Regions from separate parts of the Homo sapiens genome. Here region 1 is linked to region 2. Evidence: promoter capture Hi-C in human tissues and cell types (Jung and others, 2019). All regions are on one chromosome and are shown on one strand. Each heading gives the region's core, a stretch centred on a gene start or on the middle of the fragment in contact. The rest is flanking DNA. Distances are from core to core; before and after follow the strand shown.

Region 1 (6,500 bases), core at 2,183-4,682, 580 kb after region 2:
GATCCCCTCTCCCTTCAAGTCTCAGCTCACGTCACCTCCTCAGAGAGGCATTTCTCAATTTCCCCTCTGTAGTTTCTTCCCCCCACACTCCAGCCACTGTAAAAAAAAAAAAAAAAGCCTGTTTATTTCCTTTACTGTGCCTCCCAAAATTATTTTATTTGTTCATTTGCTTTAAGTTTGTCTTAACTAGGATATAAACTCTGTCACTGTGTCCCCAGCATTTAGCACTTATAGGTGCTAGACACATCCACAGAGGGAATAAATACATCCGGGTAATGCTTTGCCCTAAAATTTCACTGCCACCAGTAACTGGAAGGGCCCCTCGGTCTTCTGGATATCACAGAGCCAAACCTGAGATTCTTAGACTTCACAAAGAAACTTTATCCACAAGTGAGGTGAATAGGCAAAGCTGGTTGCAGACAATATATCAGACTTCACACAGCAGTGTTCACACTTGGGGTAGGGGGAGGATCTATGTGGCCCCCAGGGGCAGGCCTCAGACAGAAACCCTAAAATCATATATGATGACTAGTCTGGGCGTGCATTCTTCAGGGGAGAGGTCTTAGAGAATCTCATGACCCCCTAAAGGGTTAAAAAGGAACATTGACAGAGAGGGGGATAGATGACTAGATTCTCTTGTATACTCTATAGTTTTTAAAAAGAGCTTCAGCCAGGCATGGTGACTCATGCCTATAATCCCAGCACTTTGGGAGACCGAGGTAACAGGATCTCTTGAGCCCAGGAGTTTGAGACCAGCCTGGGCAACATAGTGAGAACCTATCTCTACTTTAAAAAAAAAAAAAAAATTAAGGCCGGGCGCGGTGGCTCACACCTCTAATCCCAGCACTTTGGGAGGGAAAGGTGGGCGGATCACGAGGTCAGGAGATTGAGACCAGCCTGGCCAACATAGTGAAACCCCATCTCTACTAAAAATACAAAAATTAGCCGGGTGTGGTGGCATGCACCTGTAGTTCCAGCTACTCGGGAGGCTCAGGCAAGAGAATCGCTTGAACCTGGGAGGTGGAGGTTGCAGTGAGCTGAGACCACACCATTGCACTCCAGCCTGGGTGACAGAATGAGACTCCATCTCAAAAAAAAAAAAAAATTAAAGTAGAGAAAGAAAAAAGAGCTTCAAGAATACTCAACCAGCATGGTTGCTTGAGCCTGTAATCCCAAGATTTTCGGAGGCTGAGGCGGGAGGATCACTTGAGACTGGGAGTTTGAGACCAGCTGGGGCAACATAGTGAGACCCCTGTCTTTTTTTTTTTTTTGAGATGGAGTCTCACTCTGTCGCCCAGGCTCACTGCAACCTCCGCCCCCTGGGTTCAAGCGATTCTCTTGCCTCAGCCTCCTGAGAAGCTGGAATTACAGGCGCATGACACCATGCCCAGCTAATTTTTGTATTTTTAGTAGAGATGGGGTTTCACCATCCTGGCCTGGCTGGTCTTGAACTCCTGACCTCGTGATCCACCCACCTTGGCCTCCCAAAGTGCTGGGATTACAGGTGTGTGCCACCATGCCTGGCCAAAAAAAAATTTTTTTTAATTATAAAGAACATTTACACTGCTCTCAGATTATATGCACAATTTTGTATTTTTTGTGTAGATTTTTCTGGGAGTCTAGATTTTCTTAGTTTCTCAAAGGGATGAAGGGTCCTCAAACCCAAAAAAGAGATTCTAGGACTCCTCTCTTTAGAGTTACCAAGGTAGGGCTGAATGACATTCTCTGCCCTACTGAGAGCGTCTCCCAGAAATCAGTCGTCCTAGGGCTGGGTTTCTTCCAGAAAATTCCTGGCCTGACTTCTGGCAAGGCCTGTGTTTACACTTACAAAGGCAAAGCCACCCTTTTTTTTTTCTTTTTAACTCTTCACGCTTTTTTTTTTTTGACAGAGTTTTCCTCTTGTTGCCCAGGCTGGAGTGCAATTGCGTGATCTTGGCTCACTGCAACCTCCGCCTCCTGGGTCAAAGGATTCTCCTGCCTCAGCCTCCCAAGTAGCTGGGATTACAGGCATGCGTTACCACGCCCAGCTAATTTTGTATTTTTAGTAGAGACAGGGTTTCACCATGTTGGTCTCGAACTCCTGACCTCAAGTGATCCACCCGCCTCTGTCTCCCAAAGTGCTGGGATTACAGGTTTGAGTCACCGTGCCCAGCCCCTCTTCACACATTTTAAGCTGACCATAAGCTTGTGGTTGATCATTCGGCCCAGTTTTGGACAGATGTCCCATGTGCCTTCAAGGTTTGGGGGTGCTTTAGGCAGAGTGGCTTTGAGGTCCCTCTGATGGCATGAAGGAGTATCTGGGGCAGATATCCCTGGCAGGAGTGAAATGTGAGGAGGACAGTCTGGTTTTCTCACCTGATAAGGCGACTCGGTCTCAGTGATACGCTGTTTCCGGGTCGCTGCTGGAGGTGAGGGGTGTTGTGGGGTGCAGAGACAGGCAGAGTGGTGAGTTGAGGGTGTTTTGTCATTCCAAATCAGCACCTCCATTACCATCCCTTTGGATGTTTGAGATCTGGGAGTTTACCCAGCCCCCCACCCCCATCTAGGCAAGTCCTCAGGATGTCCCCTGCTAGCCCCACTCACCCTCCGCAGCCCCTCGCCCCCGAGGGACCAGCCGGCCCAGGAAGTACACGGCCAGGGCAATGAGCACTGTCAGCACCAGGTCTCCCATCACGATCCCTGCCAGCACGCCCGGGCTCACCGTAGAGCAACTGCAATCTGCAGCACAGGGGTCAGGGGAGGTCAGTGTGTGCTGGGAACTGTGGGGAGGGGGGTCAGCGGCAGGGAGGTTTGGAAAGGGTGTGGGAGAGACGGAGACAGGGAGGTCTCTGGGAGGTAGAGAGAGGGACTGCTGGGTCTAGGCCTACCGCTCTGGGCCTGGGCCTGGACAGGACGGAGACCTGAGGAGGAAAAAGAAGGTAAACTGAGGCACAGAGTTATGACGGGGGTGGGGGAGGCAAGTTTAGAAGCCAGGGAAGGTGGATCCTGACAGCCAAGAGGTTAGCAAGGGGGAGAGCGTGTCTGGCGGGACTCAGGGGGCTGGCGTCTGGGCCACCGGACTATGTGCGTTACTTCTGCACAACTTGTCCTGTGGCAACACACTTAGATGTCTCTTCTCCCCTGCTTGTAGCGGACGACAAAACTTGGGGGCTTGGGCTCTGGGAGAAACCCACAGGCTTTGGGAGGTTGGGGACCTGCTCCCATCCCAACACCCACTTTTGGTTCTCTCGTTCCACCCCACTCCCTGCCCTGCCCCAAGCTGAGCCCAGGGACCCGGGAGGCAGCCACGGAAGCCCCTAACTCACCACTTACAGCCAGCAGGAGAGGCAGGAGCAGGAGCCTGCTGCAGGGTTCAAGTCCCCCCATGAAGCCGGATGCTGCTGGACACCACAGTGTAAGGGCCGGTGGGATGTGGCGCAGCGTCCAGGCAAGTGAAGGAGGAAGTCTGAGGCGGGTGGTGGCAGAAGGGAGGAGGAGACAGGGGAGGAGAGACAGAAACAAAACCCAAGAAAGAATCAGGCCCAGACACCCAGGGGCCATGCCACAGGCCCCCAGCAACTAGACGTGAAGGGCAAAGGGTACGTGAAGCACAAACTTCACCTCCGTCCCCAGTCAGGGGTCAGACATCGTTTTAACAGGAGGGTCAGTGTCATGACCTTCCTCTGGCTGATTGAAACCAGCTCTGCCTCTTCCTGGCTGGTCAACCTTGAGTGCAATGGCACGGTCTCGGCTCACTGCAACCTCTGCCTCCCGGGTTCAAGTGATTCTCCTGCCTCAGCCTCCCAAGTAGCTGGGATTATAGGCGCCTGCCACCATGCCCGGCTAATTTTTTGTATTTTTTTTTCTTTTTTTTTTAGTAGAGACAGGGTTTCACCATGTTGGCCAGCTGGTCTCAAACTCCTGACCTCAGGTGATCCACCCACCTTGGCCTCCCGAAGTGCTAGGATTGCAAGTGTGAGCCACCGCACCCAGCTCCAACCTCAGTTTCTTCATCTGTAAAATTGGGAGTAAAATGGGACCTACTTTTTAGAGTTGTGGGGATTAAATGAATTAAAGTTCCTAGACCAGGGTCTGACCCTTGTCAGCTTTTTAAAAGCATCAGCTATGATGATGATTATTTAATCATCAGAAACTTGTGCTGTTTAAAGGATATTAAAAGAGCCAGCAGCATGTGGGCACTAATGACATGCAGGCACTCTGTCCCAAGCGTTAAATCATTCAGTCCCCGCAATGCCCTTCTAGGGCACATGCTCTTATCATCCCCATTGTTCAGAGAGGTAGAGACGCTTGCCTAAGGCTGCACAGCAAATCAAGGTGGAAATGGAACCCAAGACCCAAAATCAGGTTTTTGACTAGGGAAGAGTCAGGGGGAAAAACAAAGATGAAAGATGGGGAAGGAGAAAACAGCGGCAAAGCTGAGAAAGGTGAGAGTAAGGCAGTGGCACAGACACAGAGGCACGGCTGGCGGCTTGGGGAGAGGCAGGTGGCTGGCTCTCCTGCTGAATGAGGAAGTGGCTGGGAGCAAGGCCCAAGGGAGGCCACCCCAAGGAGACGGGGACTTCTAGCCCCCAGCTGGAGCCTGGGGCTGGGGAAGGAGGAACCTGAGGTTAGGGTGCTGGAGGATGAGACAGCTGCAGGAAGCCCCCCTCCCCCATCCACACGTCACACCCACCGCTCCTTGGGCCTGGGCTTAGGAGAAAAAAGGGGAAACTGGATTCTGGTCACAGGGCAGATGCCCAGTGGCCTGTGGGGGAAGGGAGGAGAGGAGATTTGGAGCCTGGAGGAGGGTCAGGTCCCAGCTCAGCCCACGGTCACCACTGTTCAGGCCTGGCTGAGTCCCCTCCCTTAAAAACCCAAGCCTCTCCCATTGTGTCTAGAGCGAGCATGGAGGGAACAGACCCTGTAGGTCCTCCCGGGCACACCAGGCCACCCAATGTGTTGGAGCAGAGTGGGCGAGGGGGCAGTCAGAGACCAGAGCAGGGCTCTGAGCCAGGAGGGCCCTGACCTGACTCAGGGGTTCACAGGTTCCCTCCGGCCGCAGGTGGGGAGCAGACTGTGGAGGCAGGGACTGGAGCAGGGAGGCCAGGCTGCTGGGATATTTGTGAGGATATTGTGAGGTCTATTAGAATAATGCCTGGTTGAGTTCAAGACCAGCCCGGCCAGCATGGTGAAACCCCATCTCTACTAAAAATTAGGCTGGGCACGGTGGCTTATGCCTGTAATCCCAGCACTTTGGGAGGCTGAGGCGGGCGGATCACGAGGTCAGGAGATCGAGACCATCCTGGCCAACATGGTGAAACCCGGTCTCTACTAAAAATACAAAAAATTACCTGGGCATGGTGGTGGGCACCTGTAGTCCCAGCTACTCAGAAGGCTGAGGCAAGACAATACCTTGAACCTGGAAGGTGGAGGTTACAGTGAGCTGAGATCGCGCCACTGCACTCCAGCCTGGGCGACACAGCAAGACTCTGTCTCAAAATAATGATAATAATAATAAAGGGCCAAGCGCGGTGGATCACGCCTGTAATCCAACACTTTGGAAGACCGAGGTGGGCGGATCCCCTGAGGTCGGCAGTTCGAGACCAGCCTGACCAATATGGAGAAACTCGGTCTTTACTAAAAAATACAAAATTAGCCTGGCGTGGTGGCGCGTGCCTGTAATTCCAGCTACTCAGGAGCCTGAGGCAGGAGAATCGCTTGAACCCAGGAGGCAGAGGTTGCAGTGAGCAGAGATTGCGCCATTGCACTCCAGCCTGGGCAACAAAAGCGAAACTCAGTCTCAAAATAATAATAATAATAATAATAATAATAATAATAATAATAATAATAATAAACTTTCACTCCTGCTCTAAAACTTACCTTGGTTTCTCACTCTGCCTTATGTCCCTTGGTCAAATTCTTTTTTGAGGAGGCAAGGATTGAGGTTGCTGCAGACCCCTATGGATTCACTGCTGCGAACATACTTCGGTACCGTGTGACTTGGATATGTTCCATGCTAAAAATTAGTATGTCCAGTCTCGAGTTCTCAGCTTAGCTTGATAAAAATCCTCCCTCAGCCAGGTGCAGTGGCTCACACCTGTAATCCCAGGCGTGATTTTGGATTTTGGGACTTTAGGAGGCCAAGGAGGGTGGATCACCTGAGGTCAGGAGTTTGAGACCAGCCTGGCCAACATGGTGAAACCCTGTCTCTACTAAAAATACAAAAACTAGCCAGACATGGTGGCAGGCGCCTGTAATACCAGCTACTTGGGAGGCTGAGGCAGGAGAATCGCTTGAACCTGGGAGGCAGAGGTTGCAGTGAGCCAAGATCATGCCATTGCACTCCAGCCTGGATGACAAGAGTGAGACTTTGACTCAGAAAAAAAAAAAAAATCCTCCCTCAGTCCTTCAGCATCAGCCTCCTAGTCTCATCCTCCCCACTTCAGCCAGGCCTGGGCTGTCCCCAGAAGATATTCCCCAAGCACCATCCAGTCATACGGATGTGGCCATAGGGGCTGGAA
Region 2 (7,274 bases), core at 4,775-7,274:
CTCGCAAAATGCTGAGATTACTCCTGACCTCAGGTGATCGCCCACCTCGGCCTCCCAAAGTGCTGGGATTACAGGCGTGAGCCACCGTGCCTGGCCTGTTTCCAGTTTTTGGCTATTACAAACAAAGCTGCTGTGAATAATTGTGTGCAGGTTTTTATGTGGACATACGTTTTCATTTCTTAGGGATAAAATGCCCAGGAGTGCAATTGCTGGGTCATCTGGTAGGTATATTTTGTTTAGTTTTTCAGGAAACCGGCAAACTGTTTTCCAGAGTAGCTGGACCACTTTGCATCCCCACCAGTCGTGTGTGAATGTTTCAAGTTCACAGCATCCTCACCAGTGTTTGGTGTTGTCATTATTGGTTATTTAATTTTAGCTGTTCTAAAGCGGTATCTTGTCATGGGTTTCAATTTGCATTTCACTAATGGCTGGTGATGTGAGACATCTTTTCATGTGCTTATTTGCCTTCTATATACCTTCTTCAGGGAAAGGTGTCATCATGTCTTTTGCCTATTTTCTAACTGGACTGTTTTTTATTTATTTATTTATTTATTTATTTATTTATTTATTTATTTAGAGACAGAGTCTCACTCTGTCGCCCAGGCTGGAGTGCAGTGGTGGGATCTCAGCTCACTGCAACCTCCGCCTCCTGGGCTCAGGTGACTCTCCTGCCTCAGCTTCCTGAGCAGCTGGGATTATAGGCGCACACCACCATGCCTGCTAATTTTTGTATTTTTAGTAGAGATGGGGTTTTGCCATGTTGGCCAGGCTGGTCTTGAACTCCTGACCTCAGGTGATCCACTTTGCTTCCCAAAGTGCTGGGATTACAGGTGTGAGCCATCGTGCCCAGCCTGATTTTTATTTTATATATATATATATGTACACACACACACACAATATACATACACACACATATATGCACACATATGTGTGTTAAAGCTGTATGTAAAGCTGTTATATATTACATATATACTACATATATAACAGCTTTGCTGAGATATAATTCACATACCATAAAACACACCCATGTAAAATGTCCAATTGAATGGTTTTGGGTCTATTCACTGAATTATGCAACCATCACCACAACCAGTTTTAGAACATTTCATCACCCCAAAATAATCTCACATCCATTAGCAGTCACTCTTCATTTCCTCTTACCTTTCCCACCCCACCCCAGCCCTACGCAACCGCTACATCTACTTCTGTCTCTACAGATTTGCCTTTTCTGAATATTTCACGTGAATGGAATCATACAATATGTGACATTTTGTGATTGGCTTCTTTCACTTAATGTTTTCAAAGTTCATCCATATCCAGGCGCCGTGGCTCACGCCTGTAATCCCAGCACTTTGGGAGGCCAAGGCGGGTGGATCACCTGAGGTCAGGAGTTCAGGACCAGTCTGGCCAACATGGTAAAACCCCGTCTCTACTAACAATATGAATAATTAGCTGGGCGTGGTGGCGGATGCCTGTAATCCCAGTCACTCAGAAGGTTGAGGCAGGAGAATCGCTTGAACCTGGGAGGCAGAGGTTGCAGTGAGCCGAGATGGCACCACTGCACTCCAGCCTGGGCAACAAGTGAAACTCGGTCTCGAAAAAAAGTTCATCCATGTTGTAGTATCTATCAGTACTTCATTCCTTTTTATTATCAAATAATATTTTATTGTTTAGGTCTCCCATATTTTCTTTATTCATTCATCTCTTCATGGACATGTGGGTTGTTTCTGCTTTTTGGCTTTCATGAATAATGCTGCTGTAAACATTTGTGTTCAAGTTTCTGGGTGAACATGTTCTTATTTCTCTTGGTTATATATGTAAGAGTGGAGATGCAGGAGTGTATGGTAATTCTATGCTTAATCTTTGGAGGAACTGTTTTGAGACTTTTTTCCAGAGTGGCTGGACAATTTTATATTCACACTAGCAATATATAAATGATTTAGTTTCCATACATCTTTCCAGTATTTGATACTATCTTTTATTTTAGCTGTTCTTATAGATGTTAGTAGTGATATCTCATCATGGTCTTAACCTGTCTAAAGGCTAGTGATGTTGAATATCTTTTTAGATAATTATTTTCTATCCATATATCCCCTTGGGTGAAATTTCTCTTTATATCTTTTGCCAGTCTTCTAATTGGATGATTTGATTTTTTTATGTAGTGTTTCTATGTTGAATTTGAGAGTTCTTTATATATTTGTTCTAGATAGGAGTCCTTTGTCAGATATGTGGTTTGCAAATATTTTCTCTTAGTCTGTAATTTGTCTTTTCATTCTCTTAACTAGGTCTTTTACAGAGCAAAAAAAAATTAATTTTGATGAAGTTGGATTGATTTTTTTAGGGATCATGCCTTTGGTGTCATGTCTAAGAACACTTCATCAAGCTCTAAGTCTCACAGATTTTCTCCTATGTTATCTTCCAGAGGTTTTTTGTTTTTATTTTATTTTACTTTTTAATTAAGACAGAGTTTCGCTCTGTTGCCCAGGCTGGAGTGCAGTGGCAGGATCTCAGCTCACTGCAACCTCCGCCTCCCAGGTTCAAGTGATCCTCCTGCCTTGGCCTCCTGAGTAGCTGGGACTACAGGCACGCACCACCCAACTGGCTAATTTTTTGCATTTTTATGTGGTTGCTTTCGAGAATTTTCTCTGCCTCTTGTTTTTAGAAGTTTGACTATGATGTGTCTTGGCATGAATTTCTTTGGGTTTATCCTGTTTGTGATGCGCTCAGCTTCTTGAATCTGTAGACATATGTTGTGCGTGTGTGTTGTCAAATGAAGATAATTTGCAGCCATTACTTCTTGGAATATTTTTTTAAGGCCCACCCTCCTTTTCCTCCCCTTCTGGGACTTCAATGACAAAATGTTAGATCTTCTTTTATTATAGTTACTCATGTCCTTGAGGCTTTGTTCCATTTTCTTTCATCTATTTTCTTTCCATTGTTCAGAATGGGTAATTTCTATTGTTATACGTTTTGTTTCACTGCTTCTTTCTTCTATACTCTCCATTCTGCTATTGAGCCCATCCATTATGGTTTTTATTTCAGCTCTTGTATTTTTTAGTTGTATTTTTTAGTTCTAAAGTTTCCATTTGGTTCTTCTTTATATTTTCTATTTCTTTGCTGATACTTTTTATTATTTTATTTGTTTCAAGCACATTTATAATTTCTCAGTGAAACACTTTTATGATGGCTGCTCCAAAATCTTTGTCAGATAATTCTAACATCTGTGTCGTCTTGATGTTTGTGTCTGTTAATTATCTTTTGTTATTCAGTTTGAGAATGCCTGATTCCTAGTATGACAAGTGATTTGCCATTGAAGTCAGGATATTCTGGGCACTGTGTTATAAGATTCTGGATCTTCTTTAAATATTTTGTTTTAGTGGGCTTCCCTTTATACTGCTCCAGCGAAATAAAGTAGGGCACTGCCTGATTGCTTCCAGACAGGGATAAAAGTCCAGGTTCTCCATCCAGCCTTTCCTGAACCTGGGGGGTTGGGAGAGATGAGGCCTCCATGTTATTGTTTGGTAAGGGTAGAAGTTCAGGTTCCCCACTAGGAATCCATGACAACTCCCTGGCTGGGAGTGGGAGGGATGCTTCATTACTGCTCCCTATGTGGCTTTCACTGACACTGTGTGTGGCAGAGAGAGGGGGGTGCTTGTTACCACTGAGTGGTGGCGAAAGTCCCAACTCTCCACCAGGCCCCCTTTGACACTACTCCAATGGGGCCGGGTGGAATGCCTCATTTCTGCATTGGGGTGGCAGTGGATGTCCAGGCTGCCCACATGGTTTCCACCAACACCACATCGGGGGAGGGTGATCCCAGTGGGGAGGAATGTCCCAGCTCCAACTCTAGCATCACTCTGGCTGAGTATGGGAGTGGCCTAGGGTTCTTTGTTACAGCCTGGTGAAGGTGAATGTCTAGGTTTTCCATCCGGCCTTTGCTGACAAGGGTGATGATGGAACTTGGATGGAGCGGAGCAGGTATGGACTAAAAGAGCTCTGTCTTTCTAGGATGCCCCTTTCCTCGTTCTTTGGCTAGAAAAGCATAGTTTTGCTAGAACTTGTTCTGTTGGGACTTTTTCTTGTTTGTGCCCCTTGGCATTTTCAGTTGTTGGCTTCTCCAGTATTCAGCCTGAGATATATGAGGCAAAGAGAAATCCCAGGGAATTCACCACCATTCCTTAAGTCCCGAGGTTCCTAACCAGTCTGCTTCTCTCCATCTTTCAGTCTTCTTATGCTTGTCTTGTCACGTTCAAGGTTTTCAGTTATACTTGGCAGAATAAATAAATACATCTACTCCATCTTTCCAGAACATCACTGCTTTTTGTTCATTTTATTTATTTATTATTTACTGAGACAAGGTCTTACTTTGTTGCCTGGGCTGGAGTGCAGTGGTGCTATCATGGCTGACTGAAGCCTTGAACTCCCAGGCTCAAGCGATCCTCCTGCCTCAGCCTCCCAAGTAGTTTGGACCACAGGCATGGGCCACCATGCCCAGCTACTTTTCATTTTTTGCTTTTGTTGACTAGCCCCACAGAGTTTTGCTGTGTTGTTCAGGTTGGTCTCAAACTTCTGGCCTTAAGCAATCCTCTTGCCTTGCTCTCCCAAAGCGTATTACAGGCATAAGTCACCACACCCAGCCCTATCGGTGCTTTTGGAAGAAGGTGTTCTTCCCTCTCTCTGTTTCCCTCCCTATGGCCAGCTGCCCATAGAGGGCAGTGGTGCTGGAGTGAAGACCTCTCAGCGCATCCCTCTTCATCTGTAGGATGTGCATGGCTTCCAATGCTGTCTGTTCTGCTCCTGAGACACTCGCTGGCTACAGGATTATAAAGGTGATGAGGTTTCAGCCTAAAGACTCTCCATTCAATAACACTTCCTACAAGATATCTTTTTTGTTTTTTTGAGACAGGATCTGGCTCTGTCACCCAGGCTGGAGTGCCACAGCGCGATCTGCTCACTGCAACCTCAGCCTCTCGGGCTTAAGTGATTCTCCTGCCTTAGCCTCCTGAGTAGCTGGGACCACAGGCGCCCGCCACCACACCCAGCTAATTTTTGGATTTTTTTTTTTTTTTTTTTTAGTAGAGATGGGGTTTTACCATGTTGCCCAAGCTGGTCTTGAACTCCTGAGCTCAGGCAATCCACCCGCCTTGGCCACCCAAAGCGCTAGGATTACAGGCATGAGCCACCATGCCCAGTCCTACAAGATATCTTTTCTTTTTCTTTCTTTCTTTCTTTCTTTCTTTTTTTTTTTTTGAGACAGAGTCTCACTCTGTCACCCAGGCTGGACTGCAGTGGTGTGATCTCTTCTCACTGCAGCCTCCGCCTCCTGGGCTCAAGTGATTCTCCTGCCTCAGCCCCCTGAGTAGCTGGGACTACAGGCGCCTGCCAAAACACTTAGCTAATTTTTTGTATTTTTAGTAGAGACGGAATTTCACCATGTTCGCCAGGCTGGTCTCGAATTCCTGACCTCAAGTGATCCACCCGCCTCAGCCTCCCAAAGTGTTGGGATTCCAGGCATGAGCCACCGCACCCGGCCGAGATATCTTTTTCCTCCTCAATATCTATGTGCTCCTCCCTCAACCCTTGGGGGCTTCAGTGTAGGTGGTCAGATTCCCCACCATTTATGCCTATGATGAAAAGAGTGGAAATGGTAATAACTGGATGGTGTCACTAAACTACAAATACTTTCAGGTAGGCCTGTGCCTTTTTCAGCGGGCTGCAGTTCTCCTGCTTGGCTTGAGTCATTCGCATTTCCTGAGAGCTGGGTAGAGGGGGAGTTGTGGAGGAGCCCATTCTGAAACTGATCTGATATTGCAAACCCATACACGGAAAGGAAGAACTGCCCATACGTATTCGAGTCTTCCAATCTGACTCCGAGCCCGCATCCCCCTCAATCGTCTCTTTTCCCCACTCCCCAGATCACGGTGCTGCTTGGTCCCCCTCAGAGCCATAGAGAAGCAGGGGGTGTGGCCATGGAGGGGAAACCTCTGTCACCAGAGACTTTACTGTACTTCTCCTTTTGCTCTCAGATGCTGCCAGGGTCCCTGAAGAGGGAAGACACGCGGAAACAGGTAAAAATCATTTTGCTTTTATTTTGCATTCAACAAGCAAGTTATTACGGAACAGCAGTTATGGGCCAGGCATACCTCCCAGAGCTGGGAACACAGTGGGGACCTCCCTGGCTCTCTCTTACCGGTGTTACAACAGGTTGTAGACAGACCCCTGTCTTGAGCATCCTCCTTGCCAGGCCTGCTGAGTCTTCTGAGAGTAGGGTAGGTTATTGGATGCCCAGGAGGGAAGAAGGAGCCAGGGAGGTCAGCCCCAAGGTTCTGCAAGGCCCTCAACAGGCCTGGACTGAGGAGGTCTGGACAGCATGGCCCTGTCCTGAGCCTCTGTGCATAATAACTGCTGTCCCTAACCTCCACCCCACCCTCAGCCTTCCAATTCCCGGGCCTGGGGCCCTACTCCTGTGCTCCAGAGACTCCTGGAGCTCCTTGAGGCAGCACACAGTCCTGCTCTGGAGGCGCCCATCTCCCACTCATGCTGGGATGCTCCAGCCCGTCCCAGAGCAGGTTGTGGCTGGAGGGTGCTGGCAGAGGAGGGACAATGGCCCGGCTCCTGGAGGCAAGTGTTGGCTGCAGGGAACGGAGTCTAGTCCTTGCCACAGCCCTTGTTACCCCTTAGGTAACCTTAAGGGGATTTCAAAGAACTCTGGCTCTGCAACCCTGCTAAGTTTTTTATGGAACATGTAAAATAGATCCCATGGCCAAAGAAGTATGGACAATGTATTATACTATACTCTAATCCCCATGTCTAGAGATTAATGGTGTAGATAGAGTTTACTGAAAGGTTTTTAAAGTCCTGCAGTAAAGAATCTTACTTAAGCCAGGTGCGGTGGCTCACGCCTGTCATCTCAGCACTTTGGGAGGCCAAGTTGGGGGGATCACCTGAGGTCAGGAGTTTGAAACCAGCCTGGCCAACATGGTGAAACCCCATCTCTACTAAAACAAACAAACAAACAAACAAATCAGACGGGTGTGGTGGCACATGCCTATAGTCCCAGCTACTCAGGAGGCTGAGGCAGGAGAATCACTTGAACCCTGGAGGCAGAGGATGCAGTGAACTGAGATCACACCACTGCACTTCAGCCTGGGCGACAGAAGAATGAGACTCTGTCTCAAAAGAAAAAAAAAGAATCTTACTTAACTCTTTTACCCTGCCTTTCTCAAGTGTATGTGACCTTGAAGATGTTTTTTGCATGTGACATGATGAGTACC

Evidence for each region. The method cuts DNA at HindIII sites, captures the fragments that hold promoters and counts their contacts. A contact is called where the count stands out against the background at its distance.
Region 1: a contact is called between the fragment with the promoter of TYROBP here and the fragment with the promoter of CD22 in region 2, in 1 of the 25 tissues and cell types used here (liver).

What each region holds. Positions count from the first base shown.
Region 1 is chr19:35,904,863-35,911,362 of GRCh38, forward strand. It overlaps TYROBP (transmembrane immune signaling adaptor TYROBP), which reads right to left and starts at 3,433. Exons shown (of 5, transcript NM_003332.4): 1 at 3,306-3,433; 2 at 2,868-2,900; 3 at 2,584-2,718; 4 at 2,356-2,402. The coding sequence starts at 3,366. RefSeq lists a silencer at 2,445-2,598 and enhancers at 4,410-4,539, 4,690-4,739, 4,840-4,949. The HindIII fragment of the contact is 6,909 bases long and covers 707-6,500 here.
Region 2 is chr19:35,323,163-35,330,436 of GRCh38, forward strand. It overlaps CD22 (CD22 molecule), which reads left to right and starts at 6,025. Exons shown (of 14, transcript NM_001771.4): 1 at 6,025-6,068. RefSeq lists a silencer at 287-346 and enhancers at 6,602-6,651, 6,722-6,771. The HindIII fragment of the contact is 23,810 bases long and covers 1-7,274 here.